Linked DNA regions of Homo sapiens: regions 2 and 3 are each linked to region 1. Evidence: promoter capture Hi-C in 16 types of primary human blood cells and fetal thymus (Javierre and others, 2016). All regions are on one chromosome and are shown on one strand. The core of a region is centred on a gene start or on the middle of the fragment in contact, and the rest is flanking DNA. Distances in the headings are between cores, read along the strand shown.

The links. The method cuts DNA at HindIII sites, captures the fragments that hold promoters and counts their contacts. A CHiCAGO score of 5 or more calls a contact.
Region 2: a fragment that was not itself captured here is called in contact with the fragment with the promoter of BEAN1 in region 1 in 13 of 17 cell types (naive B cells, activated CD4 T cells, total B cells and 10 more); the score reaches 15.6 in naive B cells.
Region 3: a contact is called between a fragment that was not itself captured here and the fragment with the promoter of BEAN1 in region 1, in 9 of 17 cell types (activated CD4 T cells, naive B cells, total CD8 T cells and 6 more). The highest score is 10.0, in activated CD4 T cells.

What each region holds. Positions count from the first base shown.
Region 1 is chr16:66,426,045-66,429,718 of GRCh38, forward strand. BEAN1 (brain expressed associated with NEDD4 1) reads left to right here and starts at 1,251. Exons shown (of 5, transcript NM_001178020.3): 1 at 1,251-1,387. RefSeq lists an enhancer at 2,079-2,679. The HindIII fragment of the contact is 13,321 bases long and covers 1-3,674 here.
Region 2 is chr16:66,717,840-66,721,353 of GRCh38, forward strand. It overlaps DYNC1LI2 (dynein cytoplasmic 1 light intermediate chain 2), which reads right to left. Exons shown (of 13, transcript NM_006141.3): 13 at 3,054-3,514. Among named protein-coding and RNA genes, the nearest start is that of CMTM4, 23 kb to the left of the region's middle. The HindIII fragment of the contact is 6,892 bases long and covers 1-3,514 here.
Region 3 is chr16:66,743,681-66,747,001 of GRCh38, forward strand. All of the region lies in intron 3 of DYNC1LI2 (dynein cytoplasmic 1 light intermediate chain 2), which reads right to left. Among named protein-coding and RNA genes, the nearest start is that of DYNC1LI2, 6.3 kb to the right of the region's middle. RefSeq lists a silencer at 2,932-3,132. The HindIII fragment of the contact is 6,912 bases long and covers 1-3,321 here.

The DNA of each region.
Region 1 (3,674 bases), core at 1-2,500:
TTTTGAAACGAACCCAGCTTTTGACTCCCCTTGCCTCCTAAGCCCCAGTTTCCTCATCAACAGTAGTGGTTCAGAGAGTGTTAGCAACAACACATTTCATCAATTCCTGCAGCAAATTCACTGAGTGCCCACTCTGTGCAGACCCCTGCAGCCCTACCCAGACGCTGCCCTCCTGGCGCTCCCAGGCAAGTGGCGGAGGTTAAATAAATAACTCCTCCACGCTGGCGAGCACCCCAACACAGTAGGGGTGCAATCATTGGGAGCAATATCCTAATGAGGACAGGGAGGCCTGAGAGATGGGCTGGGATTCGTCCAAGGCCCCAAAGCAGGGTGGGGACAGAGCAGGTCCTGGAAGCCTGGAACCCCGGCCTGAGCCAGGCATCCCCTCGGGGCCGGCTTCCACCTGCCAGGGCTGAGCCCTATGCCCTGACGTTTGGGCAGCGGGGAACGGGGGCACAGGGAGGGTGACGGGGTGAAGGAAACAGGCCTGCTGGTGGCTCCGAAGGAAGGTTTGGGCCAGGCCTAGCTGGAATCCCAAAACTCACCTGCCAGCAACCGCGAGCGGGAAGCCCTGCCAGGCTCGCCTGCCCCTGCCAGCGGCCCAGCCACGCTGGGTCCCCCTCTCCATCCCGCACTTTGCTCTTTGCCCGCGACAGGGGTCCCCTGCTCAAATGCCCAGCCTAGCCTCGGTCCAACCTGTCTGGCTGTCCTTCCCTGACACCTCGTTTGTCTACCCTTCTCTGCACGTGTCAGTGGCTCCCCGCTCGCGTCCGTGTGTCATTCCCTACACACGCCTGTGTGTCCTCTTCACACGTCTGACTGGAGCGTCGGCCTCCCGCATTTCCCGGCCTCCTCGCCGCCCTGCCCCGCCTGCTGCTGTGTGGGTGTCGGGCTGGCTGTGCGCAAAGGGGCGCGGCTCGGCCCTCCCCCGCACCCGCGCCCCCCGCCCCGCATCTCGGAGTGACCCGGGCCGCGGCGCCGCGGTGCTGAGGCCCGGGAGCCGCGCCGCCGCCGAGGGGGGCCGGGGCCGGTGACGGTGGCGTGGGCGGCGGCGCGGGGACGACGGGCGGCCGGGCGGGGCTGCGGCAGGGCAGGGCCAGGGCCAGGGCCGGGGCCTGGGAAGCCGCCGCCGCCGCTGCCTCGGCCCGGGATCGCGGGCGGCTGGTCGGCCCGGCTCGCCTGGCCCCGCCTGGCCCGCCCCGCCCCGCCCCTGCGCGCCCAGCAGGCCGAAGCGTAGCGGCGCGCCCCCCGCGACGCCCGAGCCCGAGCGCAGTGGCCTCCGAGCGGGAACCGGACTGGGAGCCGGAGCCGGGGCGGGAACCGGAGCTGGAGCCGAAGCTGGAGCCGGCACTGCGGCGCACGGAGCGGAGCGCTGCAGCCAAGCCGAGTAAGGGGCGTGGGGCTGGGCGGCGCGGGGGAGGGGCGGGCGGGGGGTCCCGGCCCCATTCCCCCGCGCTCTGCGGTGGTACCGGCGAACGACACACCCGGGGGCGCGCCGCGCGGAGCCTCGGTGCGCGGGGCGGGCGGATGCGCGGTCCGGAACGGAACCGCAGCGCGCTCGGAACGGAGCGGGATCCCGGGTCTCCCGCGGACCCTCGACCCCGGGCTGGCCACTGGGATCTGCGCGAGCCGAGGCTGACCCTGATCGCGCCCTCGGGCCTCGGGGAAGGGGAGGTATCCAGGTTTTCTGCCTGACTCGAGTCCCCGACGAGCATCAACCGCATTTGGGGAACCCAAGACAGCCTCCCCAGCAGCTTGCCCTCGGTTTCGGGGACCCCTGAACAACCCAACCAAGAAGGGAAAACTAGGGCGCACTCTCGGTCGGGGTGGGAGAGGAAAGGGGCTGGGGCTTCACGGAGTTTGGAGTTTGAACCCACCCGCACCCCTTTGAGCTAGGAAGTTTGACCCTTCGACGAGCAGGTCGCCTGGGGTATGCCCCTGTCTCCGTGCCTCTGTCTCAGCACCGAGCGTCGGAGAGAGAGCGCGCCCTCCGCACCTTCTCCCACTTTGGGACAGACTTTCCCTTGCGCTGTCAGAGGGACCCGAGGCTGAGTACGAGGCGAGGCGGCAGGCAGCTCAGGCTGGCTGCGCAGCGCTGAGTGGCACCGCCGCCGCTCCCCAGGGGCAGGGCCCACCCCACACCCGGCTGACTCTCGCTGCCCTTCCTCCTTCCCTATCGGGCTCTGCGGTCTGGAGGCTGGAGAGCGGTGAGGACCAGGGACTGCCCTGTCCATCTCGGGCGGGTGCCGGCGTGGGTGGCGGGGCGCAGGCTGGGAAAGGGAGGGCGCAAGTAACTGGTGTGAGAGGCAGGGGTTCAGGGATCCTTGCTCTTGAGCCACGATTTCCGATGAGCCCCTGCCGAGAGCATGCCGCTCTGGACTCACTCCTCAAACATAACTGCTCTGCTGGAACGAGAGACTTCACCACCCTGTGCCTCAGTTTCCTCATCTGAAAGTAAGCAGGAGTCTGTTGTGAGCGGGATGTTTAAGGGATTTGGAACCAGAAGGTGGGCTTGGCTGACTTCCTGGCTGTACAACCTTAAGCAAGACACAAACCTCTCTGAGCCTTAGTTTCCCCATCTGGAACATGGGGAAGGTGAGTTGGGAGGATTAAATGAGATGATGCTGGTGAGGGTATGTAGCCTGGTGCCTGGCACGCAGCCAGTGGCCAATTGTGGTGGGCTACAGGTGTCCTGAGGTGTCCAGCACCAGTAGATGCTGAGATTCAGTGCCTCTGAATCTGAAGTGGTGCTCCCAGCCCCCTCCAAGGAGGCCTTTGAATTCCCCAAGCTGTTGACATTTAATTGCAAAGCAAAACTTTCTCCTTAGGGCCCACCCTTTCTCAGACGCTCCCTCCTCCAAGGCTCTCTACCGCCCAGCCCAGTTCTCCCCTGCTACCTCCCATCTCTCTCCAGGGTGAAAAGGCTGCATCTGACTGTAAGGTGCACCCTTTTCCTCCTTGCCCTTAGCTGATGTCCGCTGCCCCAGAGAGGGGCACCCACCCATTGCTCGAGCTCCGTACAAGGGAATTTAACACCTCCCTCCACTCCCGGGTGGAGGATTGCTTTCCCTGAGGAGCCATCAGGCTGTCAGGTGGCTTGGACACACCGATGGTGACGGTTCAGACAGGCAGCAAGAAGCACCAGGGAGACAGCCTAGAGGTCTGAGGGGTCCCAGCCTTGATTCTTCGCAGACTATGATGTATTCGTCCAGGCAACTGGGCCATGAGGCACCAGAAATGAAGGATGTCGGGGAGGAAATGGAGCCAGTGATTGAGAGGTTCAAACTTCAGAGCAGGGTGTCCCCAGGAAGGGATTTGCTCCAGTCTGTGTGGCTGGGACCTTAGACCCAGAGCAGAGCAGGGCATAGGCCCAGGGGATAGGGGAGGATGCTGGGATCCTGGAGGTGGCAAGGAGCGGGTGGGCGGGCAGGAGTGATGGGAAGAAAGCAGTGGTCCAGTTCACACCCATGTTGGTCCCTGGCCACCTGTGCTGTGTGGGTGTTCTGGCCCAGCTGCCCAGAACAGGGATGGGGGAGGAATCTCAGATGAGGAAACATGTCCACATGGTGCCAGGGTACACCTGGTAAGACAGGCAAGATGAGCTGCCACCTGGGGCCTCCTACACGGAATCTCCCTCTCTCCTCTTCTTCCTCTGTAGCTTCCCCCTCCCCTTC
Region 2 (3,514 bases), core at 143-2,642, 290 kb after region 1:
GAACTAGGACTGGAACCCATTAGTGCCCATGCCCTCCCCAACATTCCAACTGCCTCCCTCCACGGGTTGCTCCCAATCCAGAGGTGGCAGAAGAGGAATTCCAGAGAGGTTAGTGGTGTGTGTAAGGGCCCCTAAGGCAGGTCTAGAGGCAGGCCAGCCTGCTAGCCTCACAGGCACACCTAGGAACATTTGCACTGGTGAAAGTCTGTCTCAGAGCCTGCCAAGGGCTCCTGCCGCAGGCAACACCTAAAGCTCTTCATACCTTAAGAGAAAGGAAATTCCAAGATTAGGAGTGGCAGACACCTCAATTTGCGTTTCCCAGAAAGATACCTGCGACTGCAGCCCCTTCTCCCTTTGTAGAGGATATTGGGTACTTTATCTGCCATTTCTCTCCACCTAGCAAGAGTGACTCTTCCATCCATCATGGCAAGGGGAAAAGGTTGAACAGCAGCACACAGCTGCTTACGACCACAGATGAAAACACTCTCGATTGATACATTTTCCCCATCTGCTTTATTATTTATTTTTTTGAGACGCAGTCTCACTCTGTCGCCCAGGCTGGAGTGCAGTGATGCGATCTCGGCTCACTGAAACCTCCGCCTCCCAGGTTCAAGTGATTCTCCTGTCTCAGCCTCCTGAGTAACTGGGACTACGGGCTTGTGCCACCATGCCTGGCTAATTTTTGTATTTTTAGTAGAGATGGGGTTTTACCATGTTGGCCAGGCTGGTCTCGAACTCCTGACCTCGTGATCTGCCCACTTCAGCTTCCCAAAGTGCTGGGATTACAGATGTAAGCCACCGTGTGCAGGCCCCCAACTGCTTTAAATGAGCACAGAGTATCAGCATACCACCATGATTAGCTGAAACTCAAGCTAGACTGCCTGGGTTCAAATTCTGGGACCTTAGTAGCTACTTACCTTATCCATGTCTTAATTTCCTCAATCTGGAAACTAAGATGGACATCAGCAGAGTTGTTGTGAAGTTTAAATCAGTTTGTATAAACCACCTAGAAGAGTGACTGGTGGCTGGGCGCCATGGTTCACACCTGTAATCCTAGCACTCTGGGAGGCGGAGGCGGGCGGATCACCTGAGGTCAGGAGTTCCAGACCAGTCTGGCCAATATAGTGAAACCTCGTCTCTACTAAAAATACAAAAATTAGCCAGGCGTAGTGGCGTGCATCTTTAGTCCCAGCTACTCGGGAGGCTGAGGCAGGGAGAATCGCTTGAACCCAGGAGGCAGAGGTTGCAGCGAGCCGAGATTGTGCCACTGCACTCCAGCCTGGGCGACAGAGCGAGACTGCATCTCAAAAATAAAATAAAATAAAATAAAAATAAAATAAATAAAAATAGAAGTGACTGGTATACAGCAATCTCTAATGTAAGCGTTTACTATTACAATGTTAATGCCCGTATTATCAAATAAAATAATCCTCAACACATTTATTCACCAAACTTCCTAACTTAATTTTAAGACAAAATGTAACAATGAATTAATAATCTGTACAAGTGCTGACAGGCACGCAGACTGGTGTGACCTCTATGGAAGGGATTTTGATAATATCTAACAACCACAGACGCGCATTTACCTTTTGAGTAGGTAGGCCCACTGCTAAGAATTTACCCTGAAGACACATCTCCAAAATAAAACACAAGATATGCAGAAGGTTACTCACTGCAGCATTAGATGTAATAATACAAGACTGCAAACATCCTAAATGCCCATCTGCAGGAGACTGGATGAATAAACAAGGTACATTATACAATTGAATAGGATGTAGCCATAAACAAGAATAAACATCTCCATGAACTAATATAAACCAACTTACAGGGAATGCTAAGTGAAAAAGTAGACATGGTGCGTCCACTCAAAAGGCCTACAAGTAATAGCACTCAGTAAAATTAAGTATGCCTATCGTCCAGATCTTGGTTTCCAAAAACCAATCTCCCACTAAAAGAAACCAGGGCTCTAGCCGGGCACGATGGCTCACACCTGTAATCCCAGCACTTTGGGAGGCAGAGGAGGGTGGATCACCTGAGGTCGGGAGTTCGAGACCAGCCTGGCCAACATGGCGAAACCCGTCTCTACTAAAAATATAAAACTTAGCCAGGCGTGGTGGCACATGCCTGTAATCCCAGCTACTCAGGAGGCTGAGGCAGGAGAATCACTTGAATTCGGGAGGTGGAGGTTACAGTGAGCTGAGATTGCACCATTGCACTCCAGCCTGGGCAACAGAGCAAGACTGTCTCAAAAAAAAAAAAAAAAAGAAAAGAAAAGAAAAAGAAAAAAAGAAACCAGGAACCAGGACTCCTTGGAAAAACGGCTGATTCCAGGTCAAAGTCAGGGAAAATGCAAGGTGAGCCTGGAACACCTTTTTGTGCCAGAAAGTAAGAAAATGCTCAGAGATTAAGGGGAGCATATCAAAAGGAAAGAGTTATATCTGTTAAGAGTATAGTATCCAGAATACATAAATAACTCTTACAACCCAATGATAAAAAGTCAAATAGGCTGGGTGCAGTGACTCATGTCTATAATCCCAGCACTTTGGGAGGCTGAGACACAAGCAAGACCCTCAAAACAAACACAAAAAACACAAAAGGCAAATAACCTAATTTTAAAATGAGCAAAGAATCTGAATAGACATTTCTCCAAAGATATATAAATGGCCAATACACACATCAAAAGATGCTCCTTAACATCGTTAGTCACTGAGATACCCACCACCTTCATACTCATGAGGATGGTTGTAATTTTTAAAAACCAAAAAAACCAGGCTGGGTGTGGTGGCTCACACCTATAACTCCAGCACTTTGGGAGGCCAAGGCGGGAGAACCACTGGAGGCCAGGAGTTCAAGACCAGACTTGACAACCCCCAGCTCTAAAAAATAAGATAAAATAAATATGGCTTTACAATGTTATTCTTTCCAGAATTTCTGACAATTTCAAGTGAGACAGGTAAACATTTTTAGTTATGTGATCAGATACCCCATATGATTAGCAGAAAATTCAATGTATCTCCAGTGGGATGATTCACCATAAAGAAAGCCACCAAAACTTGTAAGCAGTCTGGATTCGTGTTTATTGAAGCCAGTAATTAGAGACATCTTTTTTTCCCAGGACTAGAAAGCAAGGTTCCACATGACTGCATACTGCACCCGGACAGAGCCACACCCCTGGACTAAGGCTGGTGGGGGATAATCTGCAGTCTTACTTTTAAGTTAGAAACACCAATAAATTTAGTATACAGACGACAGTGAACTTTCACTTACAGCATTAACATTGTTAAGGTCATGATGTACAGAGCAGTCACTTTCAACTTTGTTAAATTAATAAAACATGACAATGTCTTCAGTTTAAATACCGATTTTAAAATGCCAATCAAAAAAAAGTGCAAACAAAATAACAATCTAGCAGCATTATCTGTTGCATTTTTAGGAAAGACCAATTCTTGGCTGTTATCTTCAGCCACGTATTCAAAGGTGGGCTTTTCTCTGATTTTTTTTTTTATTTTAAAGA
Region 3 (3,321 bases), core at 510-3,009, 320 kb after region 1:
GCAATCAGTGAAGCAGTGAGCTGTGCTGAAGAGCCTATGTTTAAACAAGCCCTTCTTGTGTTGGTCACACTAAACAATGCATTCACATACTATAAAGGATGCCAAAGAGACAGAACCTTTGTATTTAAATGTGAAGATAAAATCATCACTTACATAAACTGAGATATGAATTACCAGACGCCTAATTATATTGGGGAATTAGTAATTTTTTGTTATGATAATAATATGGTTATGTTTTTAAAAAATTCTTATCTTAGATGTCCTTATGGCAGTATACATAGATAAAATTTAATGTCTGAAATCTGCTTCAAAATCATCTAGTGGGGAGTAAACAGAGCAAAGAGTAAAAGTACAGTTGAAATAAAATTGATCAAGAACTGGTTATGTATGTTTGTATATTTATTTTTGAGACAGCGTCTGAGACACCCAGGCTGGAGTGCAGTGGCAACTGCAGTCTCGATTTCCTGGGATAGTGATCCACCCACTTCAGCCTTCCAAGTAGCTGGGACTACAGGCACAAGCCACCATGCCCAGCTAATTTTTTAGTTTTTTGTAGAGATAGGGTCTCCTGATATTGCCCAAGCTGGTCTCAAACTCCTAGGCTCAAGCAATGCTCCTGCCTCGGCCTTCTAAAGTGCTGGGATTACAGGCCTGAGCCAGTGCGCCCAGCCAGAACTGGTAATTGTTGAAGCAAGGTGACAAGTACACTGTGGTTCATGATACCACTCTCTACTTTGTATATATTTTTTGTTTTCTACTAAAATAGATTCACACAAATGTGCAAGTGCTAAGATGTAATGAAACGTGGTTCCAAATGAATACCAGGATGATCTAACTGCCGAAGACAATTCTCCAAATTTATTCATTTATTTGAGATGGAGTCTCACTCTATCACCCAGGCTGGAGTGTAGTGGCACGATATTGGCTCACTGCAACTGCCGCCGCAACCGCCGCCACCCCTCCCTGCTGCCCAGGTTCAAGCGATTTTCCTGCCTCAGCCTCCCAAGTAGCTGGGACTACAGGCACGTGCCACTACGCCTGGCTAATTTTTGTATTTTTAGTACAGATGGGGTTTCACCACGTTGGCCAGGCTGGTCTCGAACTCCTGACCTCAAGTGATCTGCCCGCCTCAGCCTCCCAAAGTGCTGGGATTATAGGCATGAATCACCATGCCCGGCCAAATTTATAATGTATTTTTAGAAATTTTCAGTTATCTTTTGAGAACTATTTTTTATTTATTTTTATTTTTTGAGATGGAGTCTCCCTCTGTCACCCAGGTTGGAATGCAGTGGTGCAAGCTCAACTCATTGCAATCTCCTACTCTAAGGCTTCGATTCTCCTGCCTCAGCTTCTGAGTAGCTGGGATTACAGGAGTGCACCACTACGCCCAGCTAATTTTTGCATTTTTAGTAGAGACCGGGTTTCACCATGTTGGCTGGGCTAGTCTCGAACTCCTGACCTGTGGTGATCTGCCCGCCTCAGCCTTGTTGGGATTACAGGCATGAGCCACCGTGCCCGGCAGAACTATGTTTTATAAAAGTACCTTGAGAACTATCATCAAAAATATTTTATTAACTATTAATACTTTTTCTTTTTGTGATGAGTTTTACTTTGTTGCCTAGACTGGAGTGTAGTGGTGTGGTGTAGGGGTGTGCCTAGACTGGCGTAGCTCACTGCAGCCCACGCCTCCCAGGTTCAGGCGATCCTCATGCCTCAGGCTCTTGAGTGGCTGGGATTACAGTTGTGTGCCACCATACTGGCTGATTTTTGTATTTTTAGTAGAAATGGGGTTTCACCACGTTGTCCAGGCTGGTCCCGAACTCCTGGGCTCAAGGGGTCCGCCCACCTCAGCCTCACAAAGTGCTGGGATTACAGGCGTGAGCCACCGCGCCCGGCCTATTAGCTTCTTTTTCAATAAATTCCAACATATACTTTAAAACCAGCAGGGCCTGGTGGCTCACGCCTGTAATCCCAGCACTTTGGGAGTCTGAGGCGGGTGGATCACTTGAGCTCAAGAGTTCAGGACCAGCCTGGACAACATGGCAAAACCCCATCTCTACAAAAGATACAAAAATTAGCCAGGCTTGGTGGCATGTACCTGTAGTCCCAGCTACTCGGGAGACTGAGGAGGGAGGACTGCTCGAGCTCGGGAGGTGGAGGTTGCAGGGAGCTGAGATAATGCCACTGCACTCCAGCCTGGATGACAGAGCCAGACCCTGTCTCAAAAAAAGAAAAAAAATAAAACAAAACAAACAAAAAAACCCAATCTTCCTCTTTTAGAAAAATATACTTAAAAAAAAACCTATCTTTTATTAACTTTTTTGTATAAGCAATTAACATGCTATAAAAAAATTTATATTCATGGCTTTGTGTCAACAGTATAAAGTATCTAAATCTAGCAATACTTTCAAATTCTATTTTAGCGGCTTTAGTTTGGGTTCTGTGAATGTCCTCAAAAATACTACTCTGTACCCAAAGTCTGTGGGTTTTAATGCCTACCCATCCACAGGCATGGTTCCTTTTTTCAGCCTCTCTCCCCACTGCCCACTACACGTAACTCACCCATGTGCTTGGAGATCACACCACGTGTAGCATTAAACAGATGCCCCCAAACCTGGAGGCAGAGGTCCTTTGACATGTCACATCCTACCACAAACTAGGTACAAGCCAGAGACTGTTTTCTCTACCTGGGTAACTGCTTGCAAAGTGTATATTTATAACTCAATCACATCACACAGTAAGAAAGACTAGGGCTGGAAAATGTACCATTAACAACAGATAAGGGCAATTCTTCCATCAAACAGGAACTTGCAAGCGGGTGGCCTAAAAAAATCCAATAAATGCAGAGACCAAGAAGTTTTTAAGGTAACTTTAAAAAAATCTGTATATAAGTTAAAATATACTTAAAGGCAAATAAATGTGGTCAACACGATGCTCTGGCATGAAATATGCTTATGGTATCTTGAAACAGAAGAGGCTATAGAGATTCACAGATTACCTACATCATGTTTTACACTTTCAAAAGAAACAAAAGGGTACTAGAGCTATCACCATGTCTCAAGCACTGTTACACCTGATACACCCTGTATCATTTTGTATAGGCACCATTACCCCATTCTACAAATGAGGAAACTCAAGTACAGAGTGGTTAAGTCAGTTACCCAAAGCCACACAACTACTGACTACAGGCATGGCATTCTGAACGAGTTCTGCCTGGCTCCAAAGCCACAGCTCTTTCCACAGTAACCACACTGTCCAAAAAAGGAAGCAAAAGACTCAATACATGTGAGATCCTCTGGCCAGGCTCAGCAGCCCTGTATG